Regions from separate parts of the Homo sapiens genome. Here all the other regions are linked to region 2. The links are contacts of gene promoters, found by promoter capture Hi-C in blood cells and fetal thymus (Javierre and others, 2016). All regions are on one chromosome and are shown on one strand. Each heading gives the region's core, a stretch centred on a gene start or on the middle of the fragment in contact. The rest is flanking DNA. Distances are from core to core; before and after follow the strand shown. Region 1 holds the start of TNNI1 (troponin I1, slow skeletal type). Region 2 holds the start of CACNA1S (calcium voltage-gated channel subunit alpha1 S). Region 3 overlaps KIF14 (kinesin family member 14).

Region 1 (2,813 bases), core at 212-2,711, 310 kb before region 2:
ATAAATAAATAAATGGAAAGTTATTGTATAAATTATAATAAGCCAAGGCAATAAACTCCAGTAGGCTCATCTGCAAAGCCCCTAAATTCCTTCTCCCCTCTAGCTGCTCCTTTTGGCTGGAGCCTGCCTTCATTATCCATCACAGCCTCTCCACTTGGAATCCTATGTCCCCAACCCCTATGCCTCCCCAGACCCTGTCATTTCTCCCTGGCAGCCGTCTCACATAGAGGCTTCTCAAAGTTGACCCGACCAGAACAGAATTAGAGCAACCTCTATTAGGCAGCAGAATGTCGTTGTAGAGAGGGCAGGGCCTTTACCTCTGTGGGCACTGGGGTGTGTCTCCTTAGGACACCCCTGCCCATTACTCTCTCCTTCTCCAAATGGGGAGCATGGCTGGGGCTCCCTAACCTCCTGCTTGCGAGGCCTCTCTCTGGCCTCTGAGAGGGTCAGTGTCCTGCCCCAACCCATGAGATGACAGACTATAATAGCCACAGGATTAACATAGCAGGCATTGTCTTTCTCTGACTATAGGGTGGGTATTATGTGTTCATCAACCATCCTAAAAATACCCGGTAAACAGGTGCAGCCCCTGTGGCTCCAGTCCCCTGGGATCTGTTGGCTTCTGGCTGGAGATGAAGATTAGGGCAGAGGAGAGGTGAATTAGTCTCACTGAGTTCCAGGCATGAGACTCGGGTGTCCTTTGGAACCTGGGAAATCTAGATTCCAGGAAACCCATCTGGAGGGGGATGCAGAGTGTCTGCAGACCCTCAGACCTCCCTGAGCATAAAGGTGTGCCCTGCTGCCACTGCCATTCTGCTCAGCCCTGGAAACACTCACTGGGGTCAGCCTGCAACACTGCTCACATCACTCCCCACAGCCAGGCACCCTCGTATCCCACGTGCACCAGAGCCACTGAAAAATCCCTGAAAGCTGAGTCTTTAGCCCTCTTGGGCTTTTGGGGCATGGGTTCAGGGGCCTCATTTCCATATTGCCTTATAAGAGATGCAGGGTTAGCCCAATGGTCCTCTTCCCCCAGCTGCTACTTGCCCCTCTGGGCCTTCACTGTGGCCCTTTGCTCTCCCTCATTCCCCCTCCCAGTCCCATCTCTGCTCAGTCCCCACACCTGGTCTGGCTGCTCATTCTTTCCCTTTCTGCAGCTCGAGTCTCCCCAGGTGGGTGCTGGTTTCACTCAGTTGGTGGCACCTATGTGCACAGAATTTGCCTCTGCTCCTGAGCCACAAATTCACATGGCTTTCCGCCTATGTGCCTGTTGTGTGCATTGCAGCACGCATCTGCCCTGTGAGGTGTGTGTGTGTGTGTGTGTGTGTGTGTGTGTGTGTGTGTGTGTGAAGGGTGGGAGGGAGGAGGGGCAGCAGGAGGGGGCAGTGGGTCTGTTCTATTTTTACCAGCCAGTTGCTGCTGGACACAGTTTTCATAGCCTCCCCTCGGCTCTGCCCCTCACAGTCTGCAGTCTACGGCGAGGCACAGGCCAGCCCAGCTCCACGAGGACTGAACAAGGTAAGCGTCTGCAGCCCAGAACTTCAGATGTAGGTTGATCCCAGGCAGAGAACCTGGGGCTTTTGTTTAAGGAGAAAGCGAGGTCTTGGAGCTGGAGAAAACCATTTCTTGCCTGTGCAGTTGGTTTGTTGGTAGAACATTCCTAAAATACTCCCACAGCATTTTGTCCCACAGAATGGCATCTCTCCTGCAAAACTGTTGTGAGAGGTGAAACTTTTTCCTGGCCATTTGGAGGCTGTGAGCAAGGAGCAGAATCTTCCGTGAGGTTCCTTAGGAGCCCCAGGGCAGAGCCTAAGGGATGATGTTTTCACACAGGATGCCCAGCAGAGTGTGGGAGGGAGAGCGCACCCAGGGGAAGGGGTGGCCCTGGGATCAGAGAGCCAGGGTGAGTGCTCAAAGTCAGCAATGCCTGCAGCGGAAGAGAAGGAGGGTGCCTGACGCGCAGGACTCCCAGGGAGCCTAGAAGGCAGGGCCAGAGCTCCCTGCTGGCCAAGGAAACCATCTTGCTTCTGTGTTCTTTGTCTCTGAGCGACGCTGTTAGCTCCCTTTGCCTATCCCTCTGTAGTGTAGCACAAGAGCAGAGGAGGGCAGACCGGCAACCCCTCTTGACTGCTCCTGCTCAGAGCTCCTGGCTCTGAGAAGCAGCAGTAGATACTGGGGGTCCTCTTGGAGGAAGGCAATGGTGGCGGCATTTTGGGTTGGGGCACAGGAGCCAGTGAACACATAAGCCAGGGCAGTATCTACAGGGTAACCCAAGGCTTGGGGCAGGGGGCCGTGTGGCGGTCCCTGACTCAGGTGGGGGCTGAAGGCAGCACCTGCCACCAGGTTTGGGAGTCACAGTCCCACAGCAGCTCTGAGATTAGGCTTTGCTGTTCAGAACTCAAGATGGGGGCAGCCCAGCGCCATGCACTTGGGAGTGTTAACCGTCAGTCAAGGAAGACAGGGATGCCCTTGAATGGGGGTCCAAGGTCAGGGGGCGGGGAGCAGGGGGAAGCACATGAGCCTAACTAGATACTTGTGGACGTGATCATTGGGTGTGCAAAGAGATCAGTTCTTTCCCCTACATATACACGCTCTCTCTCTCACACTCACACTCTCACACACAGTCACTTACACACACTTACACACACAGACTCAATCTCATAGTCTAGCGGATAGTCCCTTCCACGCTGCAAAGCCTCAAGGAAGGGAAAGCCCAGCTCTGAGGCAACCACCAGAGACTCTTTGCTCCCCCCCTCGGGGGGAGGATTTTCTCATTATCTCCTTGCTTGCTACTTGTAGAGGAGATGGAATCC
Region 2 (2,878 bases), core at 258-2,757:
TACCCTCACCCTTCCTGGTGCCCCTTTCTTATTCTCACTCCCAGCCCAGAGTACTTGCTGGGAGGATATGTGGGGTTCGCTGTTAGCTCAGCACATTTAAGATTCAGTGTTGTTAGCTCAGGCGTTCAATGAATTTTTTTTTTTTTTTTTTTTTTTTTGAGACAGGTTTTGCTCTGTTGCCCAGACTGGAGTGCAGTGATTCAATCCCTGCTCACTGCAACCTCCTTCTCCTGGGTTTGAGCAATTCTCCTGCCTCAGCCTCCAGAGTAGCTGGGATTATAGGTGCACACCACCACGCCCGCTAATCTTTGGTATTTTTAGTAGAATGCGGGTTTCACCATGTTGGCCATGCTGGTCTCGAATTCCTCACCTCAAGTTATCTACCTACCTTGGTTTCCCAAAGTGCTGGGATTACCGTGGCTATCCTCAATGAACTTTTCTTTTTGAGACAAGGTCTCACTCTGTCTCACTCTGTCATCCAGGCTGGAGTGCAGTGGCCAGATCTTGGCTCATTGCAGCCTCAACCTCCCAGGCTCAACTGATCCTCCCACCTTGGCCCCCCTAGTAGCTGGGACTACAAACACACACCACCATACCCTGCTAATTTTTGTATTTTTTGTAGAGACAGAGTTTCACTACGTTGCCCCGACTGGTCTTGAAGTCCTGAGCTCAAGCCATTCTCCCACCTCAGCCTCCCAAAGTGTTGGGATTACAGGCGTGAGCCACCATGCCTGGCCTCAGTGAACATTTACAGGGAGCATAGTACATAGGGGGACTGTGCAGAGAAGGGGCCAGAGTCCCAGAGATAATGCACACAACCTTTACACCTGTAGGGATGGGAGGAGATGGGGAAGAAAGATACACAGCAGATGCTCCACAGTGAGGCAGGTGCTATGCCAGAGGTGTGCACACTCAGGGTTGTTCTGGGAGCCTTCTAGCCCACTGGAGAGGGGTTTACTGTTTCTCTGACATGGGATTGCTTGTGGGGGTGGGTTGAGGGTATGCTTGGGGAGTTTTGGCTGATGGTGCAGATACTGAGATGGGTAGGGGCTGCTGTGGAGCTGTCCTGACTTAGGCTGCCCAGTGCCTTCTCCAGACAATGTCATGGGGCTGAGGAGGGGTAAGCCTAATTTTGGCATGAGGGGGCCACTCTGCAGTTTGAGGTTCCATATCCAAGGCTACCTATTCCTGACCTCTGTTGCCCCAGGCTTGAAACCTTCCATCCTGTCTCCCTCTCCCACTGCCCCTGCCCCATCCCAGGCCTGTGTGTAAGTTCTTCCCCCGACCCACCCCACCCTCCTCAGGGGACAGATTGGGAAGTCACTGGCTGGGCTGGGTGGAATGACAGCTGCCTGGCCTCAGAAGCTCAGGCCCGGCAGCGGGGAGCCGAGTGGAGGCTAATTTTACTTGCTGGGAGCGAGGAGAGTAATCCTCCTGCCCCCACTCCTGCCCCCGCCCCCTGGCTGGCTCAGCAGGGCAGGCTCAGCCGACAGCCTCAGCCAGCCTAGTCCCCAAGGCGGGGGCATTGGGGACACAGGGAAGGGAAAGCACTGGGGTGGGGGAGCAGGAGAAAGCCAGATTCCCAGGGAAGCCATGGAGCCATCCTCACCCCAGGATGAAGGCCTGAGGAAGAAACAGCCCAAGAAGCCAGTTCCTGAGATTCTGCCAAGGCCACCCCGGGCCTTGTTCTGCCTGACCCTGGAGAACCCCCTGAGGAAGGCCTGCATCAGCATTGTAGAATGGAAGTATCCTTCAGGGCCCGGGCCGTGGGGGGGGGTGTGCGTCATGAGGGAGGGATTCGGGGTGATCACAGAGCACAAACTTCCTACAGGAGGGCCAGGGAGGCCTGGCACTTAGACATGGGGTGAACTCACAGAATTGAGTGAGGAGCTGGGGGAAGGAGCCCTCGGCTAAGCAGGAGAGGAGGAGGAGGAAGAGGAGGAAGACGAGGAGGGTGGGGGAGGAGGAGGAAGAGGAGGAGGGTGGGGGAGGAGGAGGAAGAGGAGGAGGAGGAAGAGGAAGAGAAGGAGGACTTGGTGGGGCTTCCTGGGCCTGAGTGGGCCACCCAAGTCCTGGATGACAACCAGAGATGCCTACTGACCACCTATGGGTGGGGCCTGTTTCATGGGGACTGTTCCCATGTGTGCCCAAATCCACATTATCATGGGGTGCCACTAGGTTTTTGAAGCACCAGCCTCATTTTAGAATAGGATAGGGACCAAAAAAAGATGCGATGGCCTCTTTGAGAAAACTCTCCCTTGTTTGGGTTGGGTGGGGGGTGACAGTGGACAGAGGTGAGCTGAAGGAAGGCTTCCTCTGGGGGCAGGTCCCAGCTGAGGACAGAGCCAAGGGGAGAAATGGATCTGAAAGACACCTGGTCTCAGTGGCTCCAAGACACAGGCCAAACAAGCCTGGTTGTTCTAGCTCAGACGTGCCACCCTGGGGACAGGGACTTTGAAACTCATGCTATGTTTGCATTTGCTCTGGTGGGGAGAATGATGAAAATATCTGGGTTATTTGGGGAAGGGAGGAAGGAGTGACAGAGAGAAGGGGAGGGCTGTGTCAAGTGGGTTCTGAGAGCGAGGGTGGGGCATATTTGAAATATTTCTGAAGAGTTCTGGAAGGCTGGGCTCCTACCAGCTGTTCCCTAGAAGGAAGGAGAATGAGGGATAACTGGAAGGACAAGAGAAACGTGGGGCAAGTAGAGATAGTTTGGGGTCAGGGTCAGCCCTGTTCCCCTGACCCGCTCTCGGCCAGGCGGTATATCGCCCACATCAAACCCTCCTAGGCCCTCCCTCCTTGCCTCTCTTCTGCAATCAGGTTTACTCTGTGGGTTCTCCCTCTCCTCCATCCTCTGCTCCTCTGCGCCCTGCCCCTG
Region 3 (2,817 bases), core at 132-2,631, 510 kb after region 2:
AAAATCTAAAGAAGACGGCTGGGCGTGTTGGCTCACACCTGTAATCACAGCACTTTGGGAGGTCAAGGCAGGTGGATCACTAGGTCAAGAGATGGAGACCATCCTGGCCAACATGGTGAAACCCTGTCTCTACTAAAAATACAAAAATTAGCTTGGCATGGTGGCGCGTGCCTGTAGTCCCAGCTACTCAGGAGGCTGATGCAGGAGAATCGCTTGAACCCGGGGGCAGAGGTTTCAGTGAGCCGAGATTTCACCACCGCACTCCAGCCTGGCGACAGAGCAAGACTCCATTTCAAGAAAAAAAAGGAAGTCAGCTGTCTTCTTCACTTGCCCATGTTTGTGCAGTTTACTATTGGCAACATCAAGAAACTTAAACAAAACTTGACATTTGCTTCTATGATTTCTATATGTTTAAAGCTTCTGGTCACAAAGTTGAAAATGTATAATGTAACAATAAAGAAAAATTTTAATGTCTGAAATTTAACGAATATGTTTTAGAGAGCATTTAAAAGTATATAAATCATAGCTACTGCAAGATTTAACATTCAAATGTCTTACTGAAAAACTAGGAAGACAAGCTGGGTACGGTGGCTGACGCCTGCAATCCCAGTACTTTGGGAGGCTGAGGTGGGCGGATCACTTGAGGTCAGGAGTTCCCGACCAGCCTAGCCAACATGGTGAAACTCCTTCTCTACTGAAAATACAAAAGTTAGCTGGTGTGGTGGCACTGTCTTGTAATCTCAGCTACTCAGAAGGCCGAGGTAGGAGAATCGCTTGAACCCAGGAGGCAGAGGTTGCACTGAGCCAAGATTGCACCACTGTACTCCAGCCTGGGCCACAGAGCAGGACTCTGTCTCAAAACAGACAAACAAACAAACAAAAAACTAGTAAGACATCTGATGCTAAAATATATTGTTCTAATTATTGTCTATTAGACAATTCTAATAGCAGTTTTTTAAGAATAAAAAAACTAGTAAGACTTGATGCTACAATATATTGTTGCATATTGTGCTACTATGAACAGTTTTTTATATTGAAGCTGTTTCCTAATGCCTTACAGATTTGTTTTTGTGAGAGTTTTTGTGGTTTTTTTTTTTCCTGGATAAAATAAAGACAAATCTCTTACCTTAAACTCAAGATGTAGAAAAAGTGATCATTTCAAGTTACATGAAATATTTGTCATACTCCTAATGATGCATGTATTTGCTTCTTCTAGCTGAGAGTGAGGGAACATCCTGTTTATGGACCATATGTTGAAGCACTGTCAATGTAAGTATTTGGCTCAGCAAGGGCAAAGAGGATAAAACAAATGAATAGAGTGAATGTTACTCTCCCATAATCTTTATTGTATTCTCATTGGCCTTCCTAACTTTGAAACCCTGGGTAACTATTTATTTAGCCTTCTACCCTTGATATTGTCCAATTAGGTTTTCCCTCTCTTTCCATAGAGTGTTAGTTACTTGTTTTAATACTTGCATGTGTCTTTCATAGTACCTGTAAAGTGTCTGCCATGGAGTATTCATTATACTATGAAGTAAATATTTGCTTTTTCTTTCTTTTACCCCTTCCTTTCACTATTAATTTAATCTTCCCTCTCAACCTGCTTTTTATACCTATGACTCTAAGCTAGACAGGGAAGAGGGTACTAAGAAGAGTTAAGAGTTTGATGCATGCTAGGAGTCATTTACTTTTTTTTCCAACACTGCAAATGCTTTCTTAAAGGAAAGGAAAAGTTATTAAGTATTAACTCAGCTGCATTTAATACATCTGGGATTGTATTGGGACCCATATACACCCACATATAAATATACCTATGCATATACATATGTGTTAAAGTATATCTTTTGGTATTGTGACTTAGACTTGAATATTAAGATGCTAAGGTGCTTCATTGTATTAAGAAAAATCATACTTTTTGTTAAAATTAAAGCATTATTTTATTTCCTGTCCTTCAAGAATGGGGAAAATAAAAGATTCTGGGAGAATCAATAAAATAATATTCATGAATTAGTCCATTGTGATCTTCAGCGTAAATATGTAATTGAAATGTTATTGTTTTATGAGAACAAGAGTATAATCATCAGTAAAATTGATTTTGTCTTTTCACTTCTTAAAAATAGGAACATTGTCAGTTCTTACGCTGATATCCAGGTAAGATTGATTTTGTTTTCTTTTCACTAGATAGAAAGAGCATAATCCTAAATATTTATAAGAATATTTTTTCTTAATTGCTGTTTTACAAATAAAAGGTTAGTTTCCTTAATTTATCACAAACCGATTTTGTTAAGTTTTAATCAAAATAATTGCTCTTCTTTATTAAAAATGTTGACCTTCATGTAAGCTTAGAGTTATGGAAACAGCCTTTTAAAGTTATTATTTCCTGCCTCAGATTTCTATGACAGAAAAAAAGGCAATGGGAATACAAATTATTAAAAGATAAATATTTACTCATTTCATTTTATAAATTAATTACAAATGTGTATATGTTATCTCTCTTAATTTTTATATCATTGAGTTACAGTCTGCTGATCTGAATTACAAATGTGTATATGTTGTCTCTCTTAATTTTTATATCATTGAGTTACAGTCTGCTGATCTGATCTTCCTTCCTTTTTTCTTATAAGAGTTGGCTAGAATTGGGAAATAAACAAAGAGCTACTGCTGCTACTGGTATGAATGATAAAAGTTCCCGATCTCATTCAGTTTTCACCCTGGTGATGACCCAGACCAAGGTATTTTTTTTAAAAGTTCCCGATCTCTTTCAGTTTTCACCCTGGTGATAACCCAGACCAAGGTATTTTTTTAAAAAGTTCCCGA

The links. Contacts are between HindIII fragments. The CHiCAGO score rates a contact against its expected background, and 5 or more counts as called.
Region 1: the fragment with the promoter of TNNI1 here is called in contact with the fragment with the promoter of CACNA1S in region 2 in 1 of 17 cell types (M1 macrophages); the score reaches 5.4 in M1 macrophages.
Region 3: a fragment that was not itself captured here is called in contact with the fragment with the promoter of CACNA1S in region 2 in 1 of 17 cell types (total CD4 T cells); the score reaches 5.2 in total CD4 T cells.

Annotation. Positions count from the first base shown.
Region 1 is chr1:201,420,378-201,423,190 of GRCh38, reverse strand. TNNI1 (troponin I1, slow skeletal type) reads left to right here and starts at 1,461. Exons shown (of 9, transcript NM_003281.4): 1 at 1,461-1,518. The HindIII fragment of the contact is 15,457 bases long and covers 1-2,813 here.
Region 2 is chr1:201,111,055-201,113,932 of GRCh38, reverse strand. It overlaps CACNA1S (calcium voltage-gated channel subunit alpha1 S), which reads left to right and starts at 1,507. Exons shown (of 44, transcript NM_000069.3): 1 at 1,507-1,745. The coding sequence starts at 1,594. The HindIII fragment of the contact is 9,593 bases long and covers 1-2,878 here.
Region 3 is chr1:200,605,198-200,608,014 of GRCh38, reverse strand. KIF14 (kinesin family member 14) reads left to right here. Exons shown (of 30, transcript NM_014875.3): 6 at 1,217-1,269; 7 at 2,121-2,151; 8 at 2,625-2,732. Among named protein-coding and RNA genes, the nearest start is that of KIF14, 14 kb to the left of the region's middle. The HindIII fragment of the contact is 1,924 bases long and covers 420-2,343 here.